2 separate regions of the Homo sapiens genome follow, and region 2 is linked to region 1. The links are contacts of gene promoters, found by promoter capture Hi-C in human tissues and cell types (Jung and others, 2019). All regions are on one chromosome and are shown on one strand. The core of a region is centred on a gene start or on the middle of the fragment in contact, and the rest is flanking DNA. Distances in the headings are between cores, read along the strand shown.

Region 1 (6,411 bases), core at 1,342-3,841:
GTTTTGTCATTTTATCATTTCTCATATGAACTGTAGAGGGTAATTATATATGGAGTAGTTAGTTGGATTACTTAAACTTTCCTTCCAAAAGACAAGTGATTTTTATTTTAAGTCTGTATTTATAAAATATAGCTTTATCATAAAAATATATATTCCTATAAAAAAAAGAACAAGAATCAAACATTCCCAAGCCCCAGAAATAACCAATTCTGAAATTCTGTATTTCTTGCCATTGTGAAAAGGCATAAAGCAAACATACAAACTGAAAATATTCTTCATAAAATTATGTAGCTTTTTCTTTGCATCAGATGAGAAGGATCATCATTTTCAAAGAAGGCTCTCCTAACTCTTTTTCTTTTTTTTCTTTTCTTTTGTTTTTTTTTGAGACAGTCTCACTCTGTCACCCAGGCTGGAGTGTAGGGGCATGATCTCCACTCACTGCAAACTCCGTCTCCCAGATTCAAGCAATTCTCCTGCCTCAGCCTCCCGAGGAGCTGGGGCTACAGGCGCATGCCACCACGCCCGCTAATTTTTTTTCATATTTTTAGTAGAGACGGGGTTTCACTGTGTTAGCCAGGATGGTCTCAATCTCCTGACCTCGTGATCTGCCCACCTTGGACTCCCAAAGTGCTGGGATTACAGGCATAAGCCACTGCACCTGGCGACTTTCCTAGCTCTTAATCTCAGGAAAAAAAAAAGCCACAGATAAACTAATGAAGATCTAAAGTTGAATATCCAGGCAGACCTTCCTAAGAATTAACCTGTATTACAGTCTATGTTCTCTCTCCTAAAATGCAAACTGCTTGAAACAAAGGAGTGGTGTGTTCTTACTGCATACGGAATACTGCAAGCTGAAGCTCTTTGCAAAATTGTTATACAAGAAACAACATATCATTTTCAGTAAATTCCAGACAATCTCTTGTACCATTCTGGTCATGTTCCCTGCAAGTTTTCTTTGAAAGCGGACCTTAAGTATAATACTTTTAACAGTTAAGGAAAAATTAGAAACATTCGTGAAATTCCAGTTTTGTCTTATTTCATATCACAGACTTTTTCCAGTCCTTTACCTCTAACATTCATGAAATTTGTGTATGACTCCCAAAGATGTGAACCTATAAAATGACTACCTAGAACTATCCTACAGACCTTGGCTCTAAAATCGTTTTAGGAGAATGTTGGGAAAAGAAAAACAGCAACAACTCTGAGCAGTTTCCAATTGAATCCTATTAGAAGATGTAACTGAAACAGTCAGAAATCTTACATGACTGTTGCACTTTGGGAAGCCGAGGTGAGCGGATCACCTGAGGTCAGGAGTTCGAGACCAGCCTGGCCAACATGGTGAAACCCCCGTCTCTACTAATAATACAAAAATGAGCAGGGCATGGTGGTAGGCGCCTGTAATCCCAGCTACTCAGGAGGCTGAGGCAGGAGAATTGCTTGAACCTGGGAGGTGGAGGCTGCAGTGAGCCAAGATCACACCATTGCACTCCAGCTGGGGCGACAGAAGGAGACTACATCCCCCCACCCCCCCATTCTCCCCCCCAAAAAAGAAAAAAAATATCTTACATGACTGGAGATATGGAATTCCTAATATTCTTACAGAAGAAAACTAAAAAATATAAAATACTACATCTGAAGTCATCTTAAAAAGTTAATAACATTAAAGGACATTAGGCCTAACGTGATACATTTATATAGCAATAAACGTTACATAAGTGCTACATAAATGTATCACGTTTAGCGCATTTAAGGCTGATTACAGCTTCCTAAAACTGGATGCCTAACAGGAGGATGATAAAGCAAGAGGCGAAAATATCAACTGTAGGGTTCGATAAGCCATATCAAATCATATTTGGAATAAAGGAGGGTAGCAGACGGCAAATAAATATGAATTTTCCAAACTTATGTTGGACTGGTGCGTACGTTAATGAAAATGCTTTCCCTTTAGCTTCAACACTGAACATTAATGTTGATATAACAACGTTTAAGAACAAATAAAGATCAGGTTTATGCCTGGGACGTTTTGGAAGGGCCTGAAAAAACTGGACAGAGGCAGGATCGTCATTTTTCCCCAATGACTCCTCCCCACGCCGTCTCGCCTCTCTGCCTGGCCAAGCCCAGATGAGCCGCGGGCAGAAAAGGGTTCCCAAAGGGTCACTGCCACGTTAAGAGGCAGGAGGCCCAGGCGTCTGGGAGCCGCCAGAGCAACGCCGCCGCCTAGATTTTGCAGCCGAAGGTGCACTGGCAGGAAAGCCAAGTGGAGACTGGTAGAAGGGAAAGGGCAGGGGGAGGGACGTTCCGGCCCGCTCCTGGGAAGAATCGTCCTCCGAACCCGAGCCGCGGCCGCCCCTGATCCCGCAACGCGGGTCCATCAGGGACTGCAGCGGACAGCGCCCTTCTGTCTCCCTGACCCCTGTCCGCTCCCGCCCCTTTAGCTCTCCGCGGGCGGCCCCAGGGCTGAGGCGTGCAACAAGCCGCCCCACCACCCCCAGAGTTTCCACAAACGCACCGGAGAAGGCCGCCATCTTCACCCCGTCCTCCGCGGCTTCGCCTGCTCGCTCCCTCCCTCCCGACTGACACGGCGTGGCAGTGGCGGCGCGCGCTTCCGGCCCCTGGTCTTCGGCGTTCGGAGTCCGGGCAGGGACTCAGCCCCGGGAGAACGGTTCCGATGGAAGGAAAGGCCCGCGCCGGCCCCGCCTTATGCGCCTGCCGCTGAGCGGACCTCTGGGACCTAGGGCTTCTGGACGCCGCCTTCGTTCTGGGCACCATGTGTTCGGAGCACACCACGCGGTATCAGGGTCACAGCTACAGAGAAGGAAGCAGATGTTTGGTGATTAGGGTCATCCAGTGGGCTCAGGCTGACACCACACCGTGCCCTCCCCACTCAGTCCCCCAGCTTTCCAAAGGTGAGCAGGGCCTTGGTGTGTGAATGACCCGGAGAGATGGACTGGATTCATTGCCCTGAGCACCAATGCCAGTGAGTGCCTGGCAGCCAGTAGGTATTTGTTACATTTTTTTTTTAAACTAAGTAATGATTTAGGTCTCCCTCCCTTCACCCATGTTTGATGTCGCTTTTATAATTTCGGGTTTGACTTCCATGCAATTTTAACTCCTTTCTCTTTGCAGAGAGATGGGGAAAGTAAATGAGGAATCCTCCCAACCAGACACTCACTCTGTCAGGAAGGTATTAGAATCTTTAGATGAGGACTCTAAAATTCGGGAAAGTTAAGTCACTTATCTAAAGACACATATCTACCGAATGGCAGCGTGGGATCTGAGCCACATCTGCGCAATGCGAGGGCGCGTGCTGTGCTATCTGTAGCCTGCCCCAGAGTGTCATGGAGAAAAGTGGAACCCTCAGGCAAGATAGAATAGGGTTGCAGCGGCCGGGCGCGGGGGCTCACGCCTGTAATCCCAGCACTTTGGGAGGCCGAGGCAGGCGGATCACGAAGTCAGGAGGTCGAGACCATCCTAGCTAACACGGTGAAACCCCTTCTCTACAAAAAATACACACACACACACACACACACACACACACAGAAGAAGCCGGGTGTGGTGGTGCATGCCTGTAGTCCCAGCTACTCGGGAGGCTGAGGCAGGAGAATCGCTTGAACCCAGGAGGCGAAGGTTGCAGTGAGCCGAGATCGCGCCACTGCACTCCAGCCTGGGTGACCGAGCGAGACTCCGTCTCAAAAAAAAAAAAAAAGAAAAAAGAATAGGGTTGCAGCTACTCCGGAGGCTGAGGCATGAGAATCACATGAACCTGGGAGGCGAAAGCTGCAGTGAGCTGAGATCGTGCCACTACACTCTAGCCTGGGCGACAGAGGGAGAGTCTGTCTCAAAAAAATAAAAAATAAAAAAGATAGAATAGGGTTAGAAGTACAGAGTTGGGAACCATATTCTGAGTTTGGATTCTAGGTCTGCCACTTGCTTGCTGTGTGACCTTGAACAAGTCATGAAGCTTCTTTGGGCTTCAGTTTACTTACCTGTGAAATAGGGATGAACAATAGTACCTTTCTCATATGATAGTTATGAGGATCAAATAAAATACATAAAGCATCTAAAATAGTGCATAGCACATGGTGACAATATAACTAGCTCTGTTATTACTATTACATGTAACAGGATTCACCTGAAGCTCCAAAGGCCCAGGACAATACACTCAGCCCTGCAGCTTTACACTTCCAGGGGGCACTATTCACATTATATTCTCTATTCTTGTTATATTTTGTCTAAATAAGACCCTGAGAGTTATGCAGTGTACCAGTTTTGAATGGATACCAAGTACCCCCACATTCCAAGGAGAGATACAAGACCCATATTATGCAGGACTTGCCAAAGGGAAATCTGAAATCTAATTTTTGTGCCTTTTGCCAATGCCCACCTTTAAAGTGTGAAAAATCGGCTGGGCATGATGGCTCATGTCTATAATCCCAACACCTTGGGAGGCTGAGGCAAGGGGATCACTTGAGCCCAGAAGTTCAAGACCAGCCTGGGCAACATAATGAGACCCCCATCTCCAAAAAAAATTAAAAAATAGTTGGGCATGGTGCACACCTGTAGTCTCAGCTACTTGGGAGGCTGAGGTGGGAGGATCTCTTGAGCCTAGGAGGTGGAGGCTGCAGTGAGCTATGATGGTGTCACTGTACTCCAGCCTGGGTGGCAGAGCAAGACCCTGTCTCAAGGAAGAGATAAAGTATGAAAAAATTAAAGATGCAAATTAAGAGAAAAGATTTCTGTGAAAAGAATGCATTTCAGGGAAATACTCTGAGAACTTTTGATCTGAGAGTTTGGGAAGCGTAAGGACTGCTCTGAGAAGCCGTCCCTAGGAGGACCTGAGGTGGCAGGGCAGAAAAAGAGACAGAGAGAAGGAGAGAGAAGCCTGCTGCAGGAGTTAACTGTGGGGGAATCGTGTGACATTTTTTCCCCAAGGGATAAATAGATCTGTGGAGAGTGGACTGGAAGTTTTCTTCAAAGGGAATGTGCCCAAGAGACTTCCCGGAGGAGCTAAATGATTCAGCACACAGACCCCCCAAAGAACGCAGTGGCATCCTTACCTTCCAAACTGGAGAAGAGATATCTCTTGTCTCATGGGAGTTGCATGTGGAGGATGCCAGCAAGGAGAATCTCCAAGATACCACAAAAAGTTCCCTCTAAGAGAAACAATCAGCCTTGAGCATGTCTAAGCCAGAAAGCACCAGAATCAGATCACCATAAACCCAGCCAGATAAAGGTGTGTACCCACCCGCCACCCCATCCCCTAGACTTTATCCTTCCCAGGAGTCAGAAACAACAGCTAATGGGAGAGGCGAGTACAGAAAAGAGACTGACCCCATCCTCCATCCCACTGCAGGCTTCTGGCGTGGAATAGGCCAAGCAGGAAGAGGAGGAAGCCATGATGTTGGTTGAAGTTGTGAATTTCAATCACGATCCTGGACATGATAGTTTACAGAAACGAGGGTATAATTAGATGAAAGTAACCAGACAACTCTTCATTGTCTCAGAGTGACCAGAAAAGCTCTGGAAGATGCCAGAGACTTCATCTAGGTCAGGGAAAGAAATAACCCATAGAGATGATTTCAAGGTAACAGATAATGTTTTCTGTTTGTGCCTTATCAAGTTCAGCTCACTTAATATACTGCTTTAATAATTATAGATATTTGTATGTATGTGTTGCAGTGCCCTCAGTAATGCAAATTGGGATATGTGAATTGGGGTATGATTGGCTCCTCTCCTTGGCAGGTAGAATAACACCAGGCAGAGAAACAGCAGCCAGGCCCTTCACCAAACCAAAAGATAGAGGATGGGTGCCTTTCAGTCTGGTATTTTGCTGGTCTAGTCTCCCCAAGAATAGGTTGATTTAATGGTTGCCTACTAACTGGGAGATTCCTAGAAACCCTGGCCTGGTCCCAGAAACCAGGACAGACACCACCAGGTGGCACCAAACTGTAGCCAAACTGAGAAGAGATTGGACTGGACCCTAAAAACTCCCAGCGTAGGCTTTTGTTCATCTGTCTCCATTTATACAAATGGACGTGCGACATTTAAGGCGGGTGATGGAAGTCTTCAACAACTGGATTGTGGTGCTGGTTGCACAGCTCTGTGAATCATTGAATTGTACATTAGTGAATTTTATGGTATTTAAATTATACCTTAATAAAGCTGTTTAAAAAATTATAATTAAAAAACACATATGGCTGAGCGTGGTGTCTCATGCCTGTAATCCCAGCACTTTGGGAGACCGAGGTGGGTGGATTACCTGAGGTCAGGAGTTCAAGACCAGCCTGGCCAACATGGTGAAACCCTGTCTCTACTAAAAATACAAAAAATTAGCCGTGCTTGGTGGCGGGCGCCTGTAATCCCAGCTACTTGGGAGGCTGAGGCAGGAGAATCACTTGAACCCAGGAGGCG
Region 2 (6,047 bases), core at 3,505-6,004, 700 kb after region 1:
AGTCATTTGACATTTATTTAGTGAAAAGGTTCTGTGTGCAAAACACAGGCTAGTATTACTCATGGACTTCAGCCATCTGGACTGCTGTGGGCACAGGTCTCTGAGGCCTCTCTGGGCAGCTTTTCTGTCCCCACCTCTTCTGTCTGGGCTGGGCCTGGGACTGCTTTACTGCAGAATGTGGAGGAAGTAATGTTCTTGGGCTTTGAGTCCAGGCATTAAGAAAACCTGGAAGCTTCTGCTTCCTTCCTCTTGGATCTCCTGCTTTTTGGGAACACAGAGCTGCCACCTAAGAAGTCCAGCCACCCTGCTGGAGAGACCACTGGGGGAGGAAATGCCTGGCCACCCTAGTTTCCAGGTGGAGCTTCCAGATGAGACCCATTTAGCCACCATATGACTGAAACCACATGAGAGACCCCAAGTGAGGCCCATAAAAGTTCCCAAACTACAGAAACGTAGACACAATAGTTCCAACTAGAACTCAAGCTACAGAACCATAGAGACAATAGTAAGGTCCAGGTTCATTTTTACACTGCTGATAAAGACATACCTGAGACTGGACAGTTTAGAAAGGAAAGAGATTTAATTGAACTTACAGTTCCACATGGCTGGGGAAGCCTCATAATCATGGTGGAAGACAAGGAGGAACAAGTTCGGTCTTATATGGATGGCAGCAGGCAAAGAGAGAATGAGGAAGACATAAAAGCAGAAACCCCTGATAAAACCATCAGATCTTGTGAGACTTATTCACTACCAAGAAAACAGTGTGGGGGAAACCACCCCCAGGATTCAGTTATCTCCCACTGGGTCCCTCCCACAACATGTGGGAATTATGAGAGTATAATTCAAGATGAGATTTGGGTGGGGACAGAGAGCCAAACCATATCAAGTGACTTACTATGCGGCTTAGAAACACAGAATAGCTCTTCTAGTCTGAAACCCTCTCTTTCTCTCTCCTTTCTGCCATTTGTTGTTTTTAATGGGTATAACTTCACATATGGGTCCATTTCATAATGACTAGCCATGGGAAATTGATTTCCCTAGCACCTCTCAAGTCTTACTAGGAAAAGCTACCCTGTGTCTCCTTAGAAACACCAACATTATTTTTCACCTTTTCAAGGAAGAGAGAGGCTTTACATTTCCTAAGGATCTGCAAGCACATGTTAGCATTTAATGTGAATTAGCTGATTAAATCCTCACAAAATCAATAAAAAGGCAGTCCTTATTTATCTCTAGTTTATAAGAAATATAAGCAAAGGCAAATTAAATTGTCCAAGTTAGCGGAGTCTGTAGGCCATGGAAAGGCCTTTAAGCCTAGGTTCTTCTGATTCTAAACCTGGAACAAATTTCAGCAGACCAAAACTCCTACTATTTTGAACAAACACTGGGACCCTCCTCAGCATTGCTCCCCACCTCACTCTGGCCCAGCCAGGAAAGTGTCCAACATCAAGCCTTAGGATGTGCTATGAGGGCAAATAACCCCCAGTCTTCCCAGGAGCCAACCGTGTCCCTCTTATAATGGAGGCCCAGACAGTTCCTCCTCACTTCCAAAGACCACAGTCTCATTGTTAACCACCGCCTTCTTAATAAACTTGTCATCTCCTGAGAATGGAAAGATCCCTTCTGAGGCCAGAAATTCAACATCCTTGCTGCTGATGAGATGTGATGTCTCAACAGGAGATGCTGCAAAGAGGAGCTGATGTGCTGAGATGCTGGTGCACACTCCCTGGCCAATATTGTGTGCTGTCTTTGGAAAAAAAAAAAAAAGCCAAATGTAGAAACACATTTCTGAATTAGTACTTCCTCAACCAAAATTATTCTGAAGCTATAGGGGCATTAGACCAGGGTGAAGACAAGAGAGAGGACAATCAATATTTCATTATAACGTCCTTGGGGTTTACAAAGCAATGGATATGGGAGAGGGGAAGCTTTTGAGAAGAAAAATGGTGCATATAAATGGCTTGGTAAAATAAGTGTTTTCACATTTTACCTAGAGAAAAACACAGTATACATTTTAGCAGAGAAAAGTGGATATTTAAATAATTTATCAAACTTCTCTCCTTAGGGGAAATGCCTAGAAGTAACATCTCCATAGCGCTCTAAAAAGGAATACATTTTTAGTTTTGATAAGGAGAAAAGCACCAAAAATAAGAAAGGCAGGAAAAGACAGCTGTGAAAATACTGAAGCAGGAATCAGGAGACCTGTGTTTGGTTCCAGCTTTGCCACCTGCTCGCTGTGTGATACTGGGCAAATTTCTTCCTTCTTCCTGGAGGCCTTCGTTTTTCCCATGTGTAAAATGATGGAAAAAAAAAAAAAGAGGAACGGCTCAGGCTTTTAGGGGCTCACGAATTACTGCTCCCCTCCCCTGACAGCCACAGAAGCTCCTGAGATATTTCCATGCAGCTCTAGTAGGGGCCTCCAACTAGGACTTGCGAATCTCTGAACTAGAGGCTCTTCTTTTGCATTCAGGTTATGTGATCAAATGTTATGCAAATTTTTAACAAAAAGTAGAATATTTACATTAAAATGCTTATACATTATCAACAGAGACATTATGGTAAATGAACAATAGTTGTTCACGGTGATTTGTTCCCCAGCTGTTAAATACCAGCTTCTTCTTTGCAATGGCCTGCAGACTTCTTCACTCACTGGCCTGGGCTCCCTGTCTTCTGTACCCTTAACGAGGCCCTCAAAGTCCAGAAAGAAGGCGGTAGCAGCTGCAGTACTGATGTACAGTCAGTGCTCCTGGTTTTGCAGGGCTATGATTACAACACAAAATCTCAGGGAAAAAAAAAATGGCAAGAGAACTCTGCAGTGTGTTTCTTAGCAGCTAATTGGTTCCTTGCGCTTAGGATCGGCTTCCAGATTTATGCTATGGAGCCATTCCCCCCATAACACGGAGGAAGGAAGATTTGTTCAGTGTGGGGGCGTAGGAGGGAGAATGACTAAGGGAAAAATTAAATTGCTGTGAGAAACAGAATAAAACCGCTCTTAAATTTCAAGCAGTCAATTATCAAATTTGAAAAAGGCTTAATACACATACTAGTTTGGCATTTGGAATACAATGAACATTGATATTATTAATACATTACATAGCGTATTGGCTGAGCTGAAGAAAGGCCTCTAATATTTTGAGGGCAAAGTGAGGCTCTACTGCCTTTCCTGCTTGTGTTAAAGAGCCTCCCTGGAAACTGGGCCAGTGGACTACTGAGATTGAGAAATAGGGGCCGATTCAGGTAATTTGTACTACGTGGTTATGGGCTCTCTTCTCCCGGATTAATTTTGTTGTTTTGTTCATGGTTGCCTGACAAAGGAAAGCAGAGATTCTTAGTTTTCTTATTCTGTATTTTAAACATTTATCTTCGTTTTTTTTTCCCCTTTATAGTCTCAGGAGGTAACACGTGCAGGTTTGTTTCATAGATATATTGTGTCATGGTGAGGTTTGGGCTTCTAGTGTGCCCATCACCTGAATAGTTAATATTGTACCAAGTAGGTAATTCTTCAGTCCTTACCCGTCATCTTCCCTCTCCCCTTTTGATGTCCTCAGTGTTTATTATTACCCTCGTGTATCCAAGCGTACCCATTCTGTAGGTTGTCTGTTGATTATTTCTTTTTCTTTGCAGAAGCTTTTTTTTTTTTTGAGACGGAGTCTCGCTCTGTCACCCAGGCTGGAGTGCGGTGGCGCGATCTCAGCTCACTGCAAGCTCCACCTCCCGGGTTCACGCCATTCTCCTGCCTCAGCCTCCCCAAGTAGCTGGGACTACAGGCGCCCGCTACCACACCCGGCTAATTTTTTTGTATTTTTAGTGGAGATGGGGTTTCACCGTGTTAGCCAGGATGGTCTCCATCTCCTGACCTTGTGATCCACCCGCCTTTTCCTCCCAAAGTGCTGGGATTACAGGCGTGAGCCACAGTGCCCTGCCTGTGCAGAAGCTTTTTAGTTTAAGTCTCATTTGTCTATTTTTGTTTTCGTTGCATTTGCTTTTGAGGTCTTAATCATAAATTCTTTGACTCGTCCAATGTCTAGAAGAGTTTTTTTTCTAGGTTTTCTTCTAGGATTTTTATAAGTAAATATTTACCTTCTTGTCAAAGTAATATATTCACATAGTTTAAAAAGTCAAATAGAATAATAAGACTTATTACACAACCACAACAACAACACAACAGTTATCTGTCCCTCTCTTCTACACACCTGGATCCTTCCCTCTCTTTATACACCTGGATCCTGCTTCCTAGAATAAACTTCTTTCAGTTTTGTGAGCTTCTGGTATTTACCTCCTAATTCCCAAATAATATGGTTATTATGCCTTTTTGTTTTTGTTTTTGAGTTGGAGTCTCGCTCTGTCACCAGGCTGGAGTGCAGTGACGTGATCTCAGCTCACTGCAACCTTTGCCTTCCGGATTCAAGTGATTCTCCTGCCTCAGCCTCCCGAGTACCTGGGACCATAGGCGCTTCACCACGCCCAACTAATTTTTGTATTTTTTGGTAGAGACGGAGTTTCACCATGTTAGCCAGTATGGTCTCGATCTCTTGACCTCGTGATCCGCCCACCTCAGCCTCCCAAAGTGCTGGGATTACAGGCATGAGCCACCGTGCCCGGCCTATTATGCCAGTTTTTGATTTATCAATTTATATTTTGTGCATTGATGTTCTGCTGTGGAATTAAGGACTTAGAGTCCTTGTGACCCCTCTCAACGCTTATTCATTCTCTCCTCCTTCCCTTCAATATGGCAGTATTCCAGTTTTTGGTTAAATCAATATTCAGTGTTTATATTACTATGATTATATAAACATTGCTCACAGAGGAGTCATATTATATTTTATATTTATATATATATTTTACATTTCTGTTAGTTAATGATTACTTATTTCTTTCATTTGCATGGCTATCATGGTATCTAGCACTCATATTTTTTCAAACTCTTCAAAATACCCTATAAATCTTCTGTCAATGCAGTCAAACATATCAGATAAGATATCAGTTCCAGGTTTCTATATTTTGTTATTAAAAACATCCTCTTGGTGCCCCCCTGTACTCCTGCTCCATTCTGGATTGCATCACTGGCATCTGAAAACTTCCTTTCCAATCATCGGGAAGCCTCTGCCTCCTGCCTGTTGGATCCCCTGTTTTCTGGATCTCACATATTCTTTCTTGGTTTACTCTCTCATCTTGATGGAGCACATTCTTTAGTAGCTTTCTGAGAAGGTATGTATGAAAGCTATGTATTTTTGAGTCTCTGTAAGTCTAAAGGTAACAAAAAATAACACTGATAGAGTCTTAACTTTTGGTAATTAAGAAATATACTCCTAAGTAAGACTTGATACTGGATAAAAGAAGAAATCAATTTTGAAATAATAAGCCATTTACACACAATAAATATTTTGTATCAATCCCAGCAGGAAGCAGAACTCTATTCAGATGGTTCAACAGAATAGATTTTACTAAAGTGATTATTTTCAAAGGTTTGGGCAGAATTAAGGAACATTGCAAAGACTGGCAACAATGGGAAGCTGTTGTCACCCCTAAGCTTGAAGGGACAAGGTGAGTAAATCATGCTAGAGGAATACAGTGTGCACTGGATGAGATGGTACCTGGAAGAAATGTAGCAATTAACACTGCAAAAACTGCTAGGATGGACTGGGGTGGGGAGTAGGGCAGAACTCTTTTCTCCTGTTCTCTGATTTCCCACGGCTGCCTTCCATTGGCCAAAATCCACTGAAAGTTATTCAGCAAGAGAACCGAGGTGATACAGTCCATGAAGGAAGGGTTCCAGGAGCACAGAGTAGAACAGAAAAAGGTAAGAATGAGTCTAGTGAGTACAGATGGAGAAAAACAGCATGTACTTCCTGCCAAAATTGAGATACAGTTAAGAGTGACTTCAAAGGAAAATTTATAGCTGCAAACATATTTGTTTTATAGAAGAAAGACAAAAAGAAAGAAATCCATCTTAAAAATTAGAAAAAGAATTAGAAAATGTAACAAAAACTAGGAAGAAGAAAATATTAAAGATAGAAGTTGAAACAAATAATATAAAAAGCAAAACAATA

The links. The method cuts DNA at HindIII sites, captures the fragments that hold promoters and counts their contacts. A contact is called where the count stands out against the background at its distance.
Region 2: a contact is called between a fragment that was not itself captured here and the fragment with the promoter of DDX1 in region 1, in 1 of the 25 tissues and cell types used here (lymphoblastoid cells).

What each region holds. Positions count from the first base shown.
Region 1 is chr2:15,588,048-15,594,458 of GRCh38, reverse strand. DDX1 (DEAD-box helicase 1) reads right to left here and starts at 2,591. Exons shown (of 26, transcript NM_004939.3): 1 at 2,510-2,591. The coding sequence starts at 2,525. LOC124905975 (a long non-coding RNA gene) reads left to right here and starts at 2,690. Exons shown (of 2, transcript XR_007086224.1): 1 at 2,690-2,999; 2 at 3,127-6,190. RefSeq lists an enhancer at 2,493-2,552. The HindIII fragment of the contact is 10,803 bases long and covers 1-6,411 here.
Region 2 is chr2:14,893,331-14,899,377 of GRCh38, reverse strand. It overlaps a transcript of NBAS not described here. Among named protein-coding and RNA genes, the nearest start is that of LRATD1, 260 kb to the right of the region's middle. The HindIII fragment of the contact is 3,958 bases long and covers 2,776-6,047 here.